2 separate regions of the Homo sapiens genome follow, and region 2 is linked to region 1. Evidence: promoter capture Hi-C in 16 types of primary human blood cells and fetal thymus (Javierre and others, 2016). All regions are on one chromosome and are shown on one strand. Each heading gives the region's core, a stretch centred on a gene start or on the middle of the fragment in contact. The rest is flanking DNA. Distances are from core to core; before and after follow the strand shown. Region 1 holds the start of RBBP7 (RB binding protein 7, chromatin remodeling factor). Region 2 overlaps NHS (NHS actin remodeling regulator).

The links. Contacts are between HindIII fragments. The CHiCAGO score rates a contact against its expected background, and 5 or more counts as called.
Region 2: a fragment that was not itself captured here is called in contact with the fragment with the promoter of RBBP7 in region 1 in 1 of 17 cell types (neutrophils); the score reaches 6.1 in neutrophils.

The regions. Positions count from the first base shown.
Region 1 is chrX:16,867,655-16,872,604 of GRCh38, forward strand. It overlaps RBBP7 (RB binding protein 7, chromatin remodeling factor), which reads right to left and starts at 2,708. Exons shown (of 12, transcript NM_002893.4): 1 at 2,384-2,708; 2 at 1,422-1,566. The coding sequence starts at 2,399. RefSeq lists enhancers at 1,625-1,714, 2,724-3,402 and silencers at 1,935-2,274, 2,295-2,344, 2,675-2,984. The HindIII fragment of the contact is 7,607 bases long and covers 1-4,950 here.
Region 2 is chrX:17,729,562-17,734,483 of GRCh38, forward strand. NHS (NHS actin remodeling regulator) reads left to right here. Exons shown (of 9, transcript NM_001291867.2): 9 at 2,297-4,922. The coding sequence ends at 2,903. Among named protein-coding and RNA genes, the nearest start is that of SCML1, 5.5 kb to the right of the region's middle. The HindIII fragment of the contact is 2,810 bases long and covers 1,250-4,059 here.

The DNA.
Region 1 (4,950 bases), core at 1,458-3,957:
CATTAGATTATTATTATAATAATTATTTTTATTTTTAAGAGATGGAGTCTCGCTCTCGCCCAGGCTGGAGTGCAGTGGTGCGATGTTGGCTCACTGCAACCTCCGCCTCCCAGGTTCAAGCAATTCTCCTGCCTCTGCCTCCCTGTAGCCTGTAGCTAGGACTACAGGTACACGCTGCCACGCCCGGTTTTTTTTTTTTTTTGGTATTTTAGTAGAGATGGGATTTCACCTTGTTGCCTGGGCTGGTTTTGAACTCCTGAGCTCAGGCAATCCGCCTGCCTCGGCCTCCCGAAGTGCTACGATTACAGGCGTGAGCCACCGCACCCAGCCAAAATTAGCTTATTATTTTTATAACTTGTTGCAAAATCCTCTTTTTAGGTTAGAGTTTCATTTAATCCTCTTTAAATTATATGTCCGCAACACCCAAATTTAAGATGCTTGTTTTTTGTTTCTTTGAGAGACACGGTCTCACTCTGTTGGCTAAGCTAGAATGCAGTGGCGCAATCATGGCTCACTGCAGCCTTGAACTCCTGAGCTCAAGCTAACCTTCCAAAGCACTAGGATTACAGGAGTATAAACCACTGTGCCTGACCCCATATTTAATACACTTTAAAAGTACATGGTCAAGTTCCTACTAGAAAAGGTGCAAGTGAATGAGAAAGGCAGTCTAATGCAGGGACCAGCTGTGTGATCTTGGGATGGCACTTAAACTCTCACTCCCAGTTTCCTTATCAGTAAAACAAGGATGATGAAAAGTACCTACAGCATAGTACTATTATGAGGATTACAACAAACAACAGGACGTAGATTCTTCAGATGTGCCAGGCCCTGTTCTGAGTGCTCAATAAATGCCAGCAATTATTACCAGAGAAACTGCAGATGTAACAGAAAAGAATACTCTTATGAAGACTAACAGCAATCTCAAAGTGTATTCCATAAGCCGATAACATCTTTTCTTTGGTCAATTGTTGACAAGGTCTTTTTCCCTTTACCAATTAAAATGTATTTATCTTGGATGACTGTTACGTGTGTTCACTTTGTAAAAATTTATCAAGCCATACAACACTTAAGATGTGTGAACTTTTCCGTAAATATTCTATTTTTCAGTAAAGTTTTAAAGAAACGCATTAGTTTGGGCCCAGAAAGATGCTGCTCTACATTCAAGCCCAGGAAATGTCAAATATATTCAGTGCTTCCTCCAAACACGATTAATCTCACAACAGCTTCTTTCTCCCCTTTTACCACCACACTATACACCAGAAATCATCCCACAAATCACGTAAGTTTTGAAAATAAAAACCACCTGCCACCTCATGCAAGGGCTGATTACATACTTATGTTCTATGCATAAAACGCCAAAACTAGGAAATTCAGAACGACAGTTAAATTTAAACAAAATAAAAGTTGCCAGAAACCCTTACTTAGTCACTTCAGGAAGCCACTGAACGGTAAGACTGGGCCACTGAAGAGCATGGGTCATAACCAGGTCATATAGAAACGGTGTATTCTTCTTCCAGATTTTATATTCTTCATTGATGACACGCTCCTCCACAGTATCTTCAAACACTGAAATTTGGAGAAAGCCCACACGATTAAGTGGCTGAGATAGATCAAAGTCAGAAATTGGAGGTCACCTCAAGATGGCCACACCTCATGTACTCTTTCCTTTTACCTCTAATTTGGACACGGACAACTAACTGCTCTTCCAGAAGGTGGAGAAAATACTAACAATCAGGAAGCCTATTTTTTCCATTGAGATCAATACCCCCTGCGTACACCATGTTGGGTAGTCAATTACACGGACATGGAAATTGTTTACCCTGTTACAGCTGTTCGCACCTGTTCTAAGATGACGACCTGTACGTACAGGGGCTGCGCGACCCAGTCGGGAAGACAAATGCACGTGTAGCAGAAGCCCACAGGCCTGGTCTCTCCAATCCCCATCAGGGGAGGCCCCAGCTCCCACGACGCCCGCCTCGGCAGCCATAGGCCTGAGGACCCCAGCAACCCCCGGACAAGGGCCGCGACCCCGAGGCGGTCAACGCGCGCGCGCGCGTAGAAAGAGCCGCGGCGCTCGCTTCCCAGCGGCGGGGGCCGCCTCCGCCCCGGGGCCGAGGGCGCCGGAGGGAGCGCAGCCGCTGGAGGAGGGAAGGGAAGAGGGGGGCCCAGCCCTCGGCCCCGCGCCCGGCTCCGGAAGTGCTCGGAGCCCTCGGCGCGGCGGTCCCGTCCCGCGCAGGCCCCTCGAGGCGCGCGCCCAGTCTCGCGCCCGGCCCCGCCCCCTGCTCCGCACGCCAATTCGCGCCTTTCGCCGGCGCGTGCCGCGGCCTCGCGCGCCCGCCGCCCCCCGCGGCCCCGGCGCGCGCCGCCCCGCAGGGCCTCTTACTCTCTTTACTCGCCATCTTGCGTCGGGTCGTTCGCCCCTCGCCGCCGCCTCGGACTCCTCTCGTTAGCCAAGAGCAGCCCGACCGCTGGCGCTCCTGCCTTTCCCAAGCGCGTCACACTCCCCACTGTCGAAAGCCCGGGCCCCGTCTTGCTGCCTGGGTGCTCCCCAGACGCCGCGTCCTTCTTTCCTGCCTCCTCCCCGCTCGCGGGTACCGAGGTCTGAGGCGCTCTTCTCTCTCTCTCCAAACTTGGAACGAGACTTTTCAACCCGCGCCTCCCAGCCCGCCCAGGCAGCTGAGCGCAGGCGCATCCGCCCTGGGAAAAGTGAGAGGAGGCGGAGAGGCGGGTCTGGGAGCCAACGGCTCCGGCGCCGAGACCAATGACGCGCGGCGGGCGGGTTTCACGCGGCGTTCGGAGGCGGGCTTCTGGGGGTGGGCGGAGCGTGCCGCGGCAGGAAGTTGGCGATGCGCAGGCGCGAGGGCTCGCCCGGCGCTCCCAGGGCCGGCCGCGGAGGCGGATGGGGCGCGCGGGGGCGGGGCGGATGAGGGCCCGAGGGGGCGGGGCGGATGGGGGCGCGCGAGGGCGGGGCTGATGGAGGCGCGGCTGGCCGGCTGAGTGGGGGCCGCGAGCCCCGGGGCGGCGAGCCTTGGGGCCCGCGGGGCGTGGTTGCTTGTAGCGGCAGCGGTGGTGGGGGTGAGAGGGGGGCAGGGAGGCTGCCGCCGCTTAGCCAAGCAAAATCTCAGAGCAAGAGGGGAAAATGGTTCCTGTTCTCGAGAGATTACTGTGCCTTCAAAGTCTCCCTGATAATCACGGACATGCAATTCTCTGCACCCCTGAAATGTTCTCCTCCAGCCGACTGGCCTTTCCTGGGGCCCGGTCGGGCCGAGGTGGGGCTGGTCTCAGACGGAGGAGAGCTTTTGGAGAGGCCGCGGGCGTTTTCTGCCTGCAAAAGCCGCCGGGCCGCCCTGTTAGGCTAAATGTGCAGCCTGTGGCGGCACAGGCCGCCGGCGGGCCGAAGCCGATTTACACTGTTACATTTTAATTTGTTCGATGTTTGGGTCCTTAAGATGATGGTTTGCGGCCTCTTCGCGCTTCAGGGGATTTTGTCCCTGCACTGGCGTTCCTTTCTCATCCCAGCCCCGGCCCCTGCTGAGTCATTTTTGTCACCTGCAGGGGTCCCAGCGCGACCCCACCCCAAGCTGGCGGAGCTGGAGAGAGCAGGGCTGAACTACCCTGGGCCTGCTTACCTGAGCCCTGCTCTGCTCAGGAACTTCATAGCCCCTGAGGAGTGTGTCGGGGGAGGAGAAAGCTGGCTGCAAGGCCAAAAGGGAAATAGAAGAAAATGAGGGCCAGGAGCAGAGGGGACGGAGTTGGGGGAGGCGACCAAGGTGCCTGCGTGCAAAGGGAACCGAAGTGTACGTCCAGCTCCGGGAGAGGCTCCTCTTGCAAAAGCACCCCCGGAACATTTGCTGCCTTGATACCTTTCCAAGTGCCTTCATGCTCAGATGCTATCTTGCAGATGCCGCTGTCATGCCCACTTTTCTGACCGGGACGCAAACCCAGACGTTAGTCAGTGGCAGAACCAGTCACATTCCCTTCTGTAGATATTTACTGTGTTGTTTCCGATACAATACCGTTCATTATTATAACGCCCTCCCCCCATTCTGGGTCAAGGAATCTTGTTAGTGCCTAAGGCTGAGGGGGTGGCTAGAGAGGGAAGAGAGTTGGAAGGGTGTTTAAGCAATACAGCCCTCATATTCTAGGACATTAGTTGGCAAGACTTTTTCTAAAAGGACCGAGATAGTAAATATTTTAGGCTTTGGGGGCAACTGCTCGACTCTGTCGCTTTGCAGCGCAAAGCAGCCATGGAAAATATGGATGCATTTGGCTGCGTTCCGATAAAACTACAGACACTAAAATCGTTTTCACGGGTCACAAAATCTTTTGATTTTTTTTTTCTATCACTTGAAAACGGAAAAACCATTCTCAGCTCGAGGGTCATACAAAAACATGTGGTGGGTTAGATTTAGTCGGAGGACTGTAGTTTGCCCACCTTGTTCTAGAATAATTGTACCTTATGGCTCTGCTTCAAAGAGAACCTCGTGTGCAAAGCAAGAGGCGGCTTGGGAGATGATTTGTATCCCTTTAATACAGTGTACTCATTTCTGACAAGTAGACATGATTTCCAAAACCTATTAAAAGAAATGTTTAAAGGACTGAAAGAAAAGAAATCTTCCCAGACGACTTGGCTTTAAAATCTTGATACTGTTTACCTCAGTGAGGGTCAGAGAAGGAAATATGGAACAAATATTTTGGGAATTTCTGAGAATATTCACACACTATCATGCATTTAATCCGAAAGTGTCATGTACAGCATATTTCATTAGTTTTGCATTTTTGTTGTTGTTAAATTGAATCTGTCAATTCTATTTAATTTTTTGGCCTTTTTTCCATACTACTTTTTTTGCATTAAAAAAAGTGATATGTTTTCTCTCTTGGATTGCTTAACTGTTGGGTTTGTTTTGCCTTTCTCCCCAGCCTCTTAGCTCTGGTCCTAATCTTTTCTGG
Region 2 (4,922 bases), core at 1,405-3,904, 860 kb after region 1:
TTTTGGGTTGCTTTTCCAGGACAGTGTTGTGTCCATGCTGCAAAGGCATATTTCCTCATCTGCCCCCATGAGCCCTTGTGATCCATGGTCCATATTTGCAAAAATTATTCCTTATAGCTAATGACCAAAGAACAGAACAGGAACTAGCCCTTGGACACCTAATCTACATATAACTGAGCTAGCCAATCATGATTTGCCATGCCTCCTCCTTTCACAAACACAACTGTCTTCTTAGACCTCGGGAACCTAGATGGAACTCCCAAGAGATACAACTTGGGGATTGTCTTTTCTACCTCATAAAGTTATCATTTTTGAAACAAATTCATCGTAAGCAGCTTACAATCTTTTTCTCCTGGAATTCTACTTTTTATAGGAATTTCTGTTTTCTGTTGATGTGGTTCTCTCATAAAGAAGGAGTACTGCTGTTCAACAATTGTTTTAAAAGGAGCCAATCAGAAACACCTTCTATGTATACCTTAGCAGGCATACTTCTCTACTCAGAGGGTGAAGAACCATTAGTTTCTTTTCCTTCACCCCTGTGCCTAGTCTAAGCTCTGATTATATTTCCCTCACCCCCACAGTTTATCTTCAATCCCAGGAAAAATTACTAAACTGCTATGTAAGTTAAAAAGTTACTCCCAAAGGACCAAATGCTAGTGTATGGAATAGTGGACAGGACGTAAATAGTGGGGTCAGAAAGACCTGGATTTGAATCCCAACTCTGCCACTTCCTATGCAGTCTTGAGTAAGTTAAAACCTCTGGACCTACTCCCTTATTGCACATGGGAATGCCTATAGCTCACGTATTTGATTTTGATGATAACATTTTTTGTGTTTAGAATATGGTAGGTGCTAAAAGCCATTGTTAGTTTGAAAGCCCTAACTTAGTGGAGTGCCAGACACTGCCATATACAAGATATCAACCACAGAGGTTTCTGTGAACCAAAATCAAGCATATCTACACTTGTGAAGTTCACATTTTCTCTACCATATGAATCTTTAAGTTGATGAAAGTGCATGCTGCCTATCAATGAACTGAGTCATACTGAAGATCCACCAAATTTATGCCTGCTGATTTACCAAAGAAAATCAATAATATGATGATGGGAGTCAAGGTTCAATAGATGTATTGAGTTTGGTAATCTTAGACTTGCATTTGTGCAGGGTTTACTTATTTATCTATTTACTTGTTTATTTACATCACAGCAAAAAGAATTATTTTGTTTTCTTGCGAGCTTACAGTATACAAAGCTTTAAGAGCTCCAGAGATGGTCTGGGATTTCAATTCCCCACAGAGAGCTGGCTTACTGCTTAATATGCTCTTGATGCTCTTAGGAAGCTATAGGAAATGATACTTGCAGCCCAAGATGAATTGACTTAAAACGTCATTTAATTATGTTTTTATATGGAGGGATTTTAAAAGGTAGAATAGTATAATGTCTGCTGACATATCCATCATCCAGGATTATCAACTGTCAAACTAGGGCCAATCCTGTCCCACCCACACCTCCATCCACTTGCTTTCTCTGGTATTATTTGGAAGCCAATCCCAGACATCAGATCATTTCATCTGTATTGCAGAGACAGAGTTAATAAGAAAAAGTTATAGTCTTTCACCCCCTGGAACCAGAAGTATAGTTTAGTTAGCAGTATAGTTTCTTCCTTTTTTTTTTTTTTTTTTTTTTTTTTTTGAGGCAGAGTCTTGCTCTGTCGCCCAGGCTGCTGGAGTGCAATGGCGTGATCTCAGCTCACTGCAACCTCCGCCTCCCGGGTTCAAGTGATTCTCCTGCCTCAGCTTCCTGAGTAGCTGGGACTACAGGCATGCTCCATCATGCCCGGCTAATTTTTGTATTTTTAGTAGAGACGGGGTTTCACCATGTTGGCCAGGATGGTCTCGAACTCCTGACCTCAAGTGATCTGCCTATCTCGGCCTACCAAAGTGCTGGGATTACAGGTGTGAGCCACTGCGCCTGGCTGTTAGCAGTATAGTTTCTTAAACTTTTACAAAGTATCCTCTAGAACCTCTAGCCTCCACATTAGCCATTATCTGAAATGATCATCTCTAGAACCTAATTTGTGTCCTGGTTATCAGAGAATTTCTCTCAGACTGTGGGTGCTACAAGGACAAGGAACATATCTTACTTTTCATCTCTATAGCCCTAATGCTTAGTATCCCATCATATAGGACAGGCTCAAAATGCACTTTAGACAGATGTGTGAATGCGACTGAATACTTCAGTTTCATAAAAACGTGAACTGAGTGAGATGTTTGCCCCATTTTCTCCTTTTCTCAAAGATCCAAGAGGAAAGTACTTGGAAGAAAAGATTCCGGGGACATGTCTGTTCGAAGCAAATCGAGAGCTCCCCTCAGCAGTAGCAGCAGCAGCGCCAGTTCCATCACTTCACCCAGCAGTAATGTGACAACCCCCAACAGCCAGAGGTCTCCTGGTCTCATATACCGAAATGCCAAAAAGTCCAACACATCCAATGAAGAGTTTAAGCTGTTACTGCTCAAGAAAGGCAGTCGCTCAGATTCTAGTTACCGCATGTCTGCCACTGAGATCCTGAAGAGCCCCATACTGCCCAAACCTCCTGGGGAGCTCACAGCAGAGTCCCCTCAGAGCACCGATGATGCCCATCAGGGGTCACAAGGGGCTGAGGCATTGTCCCCACTCTCTCCATGCTCCCCACGAGTTAATGCAGAAGGCTTTTCCTCGAAGAGCTTTGCCACCTCAGCATCAGCAAGGGTTGGACGTTCTCGGGCCCCTCCTGCAGCCAGCAGCAGCCGCTACAGTGTCCGCTGCCGGCTGTACAATACGCCCATGCAGGCAATCTCCGAGGGAGAGACGGAAAATTCTGACGGGAGCCCACATGACGACCGTTCCTCCCAGAGTTCAACATAGACTGCCTGTACCAGGCTGCCTGGCAAAGGCCAAAACCCTTACTCACATGAGGATGGAGGAACAGAACAGAGGACTTGGGAAAAGTCTCAACTTGATGGGGTAGCATCACTGCTAAGCAATGAATGAATTTCTAAATACAGTATGTGCTGGGTAAACAGAAAGTGGTTTAGACATTCTTGATTAGTTTCCATATTTTAAGTAGCTGCAGTCTTTCATGTTTTTCTTTAGCATAGTTTGATTTACGCAATCTCCTTCCTTGTGAAAATAGAGGATACAAAATTGTCTAATTTTCATGACACCTAGAAAACGTTTTCCCAGAGCTGCCTATTCAGAAACTAAAGCCCTCACTGTCATTATTCTTTAAGAAGATGAAATTACTCTGGATGTTTGGTATTTTTTTACATTAAAACAAACTAAAGCAAAATTTAGAAGAAAGAACTACACATATGTAAATACCATATTTTTGATAAAAATGTGTAAATAGATTTATCAATGATGAGTGGACATGTGGTCAATTATCTACTGCACACCAACTGTTTATAGAATACACAAAAATAAAATGTAATAACTGTATTCTGTGAATACCATTTTCATATCAAATGCCATATTTAAATGTCCACCAATATGATTTCTGAGTGGTAAACCTCAAATATGAATTTTAAACTGGTGAACTAAAGGAAATCTTGAGGTCATATACTGAAATATGAATAAATTAAAATAATGAATTCAGATCTAATCATTTTTATGACAAATTGCAGCACCAAACAAACTAATAGCAACCCATGGCTGTGATTTGTTGTGTGGTAATTTGGACAGAATGAAAAGCATGCTTTTGATTTTTTTTTTAATCAGTGAGAGAAGTCATCATTCTCAACACAAAGCCCTGAACAACAGCATTTGACAGTGTCCTTTAGATTTTAATTTTTTCAATGGATTGCTTTAAAGAGAATGAGTAGGGAAAATAGTAGTTAATTTTAGGTTATGTTTTATATTAGGCTACTGGGGACATAAACGGTCATAACTAATGACTGTAATCATTAAACTCCTTAAACAGTTTAGAAATTAGCTCCAGGTTCTTAAACTAACAAAAATAAAACCTAAGCATGCCACAGAGCTATTGATTAATCAGTAAGTACCTGTAATGAGTTTTCAGTGAAGCTTTCTCTCTGTGCTGATGAGATTCATGCTACCTAAAAATTAACAGAAATGACACTGTGAACAATGTAGTTGGAAAATAGGTATGTGTATATGCATTATTTATACTCATTGTTAAACTGGGAATGGGGAACAGCTCTGGTTCACAATACTACATACAACTGAGTTTTTGTCTGGTTTTACTATAGTGTCTGCTTGATGGCAAAAGGGGAGGGTGGAGGGTGGGAGAGGAAATGTCAGGGCATGTGCTCTGATAAAATAAAGGCAGGGAAACAAGCTGAATTACTTGAAATTACTTGAATTTTCTTGTCTTAAAACTGAAAAAAAAATGTAGTTACACGTTAAAATCTGCAAATGGTTTTTACACCTCTGATTTTAACATGAACTTATACTAATGTTTGGAATCTTATGTCAGAAATATAAGCAGCTATGTACTTAGAATAGGTTTTGAATGGGAGAGGTAGAACAGAGAGAGAATTAAGAAGGGATCTGACTTATAAAAGACTAGAATGTGATTAGAGTGATAGAACATACCAATGTTACCAAGAAATTGACAAGCTGCTGGCTTTAAGCTTATGCAAGTGGTAGTTGGGAAAGTAGGAGGTGTGGAAGAGGGTTTGCATTTTGGATTAATTCATGCAAAATGAAGGAGGAAGCCTGGTCTAAGAAGATACTGTCTTTCAATAGAAATGATTTCTAAACTGCTACAGATTAAGAATAGATAATCTGATTGCTGTTGTTTTGTTTGTTTGGAAAGAAAAAAAATGTCTGGCTTCTTCTACTATTTGTTTTCACTACCAAACTGTGTTACTAAATTTCTTGTCATCCTTGTATGTAAAATGGGTGCTGGGGGTGGAGGGGTAT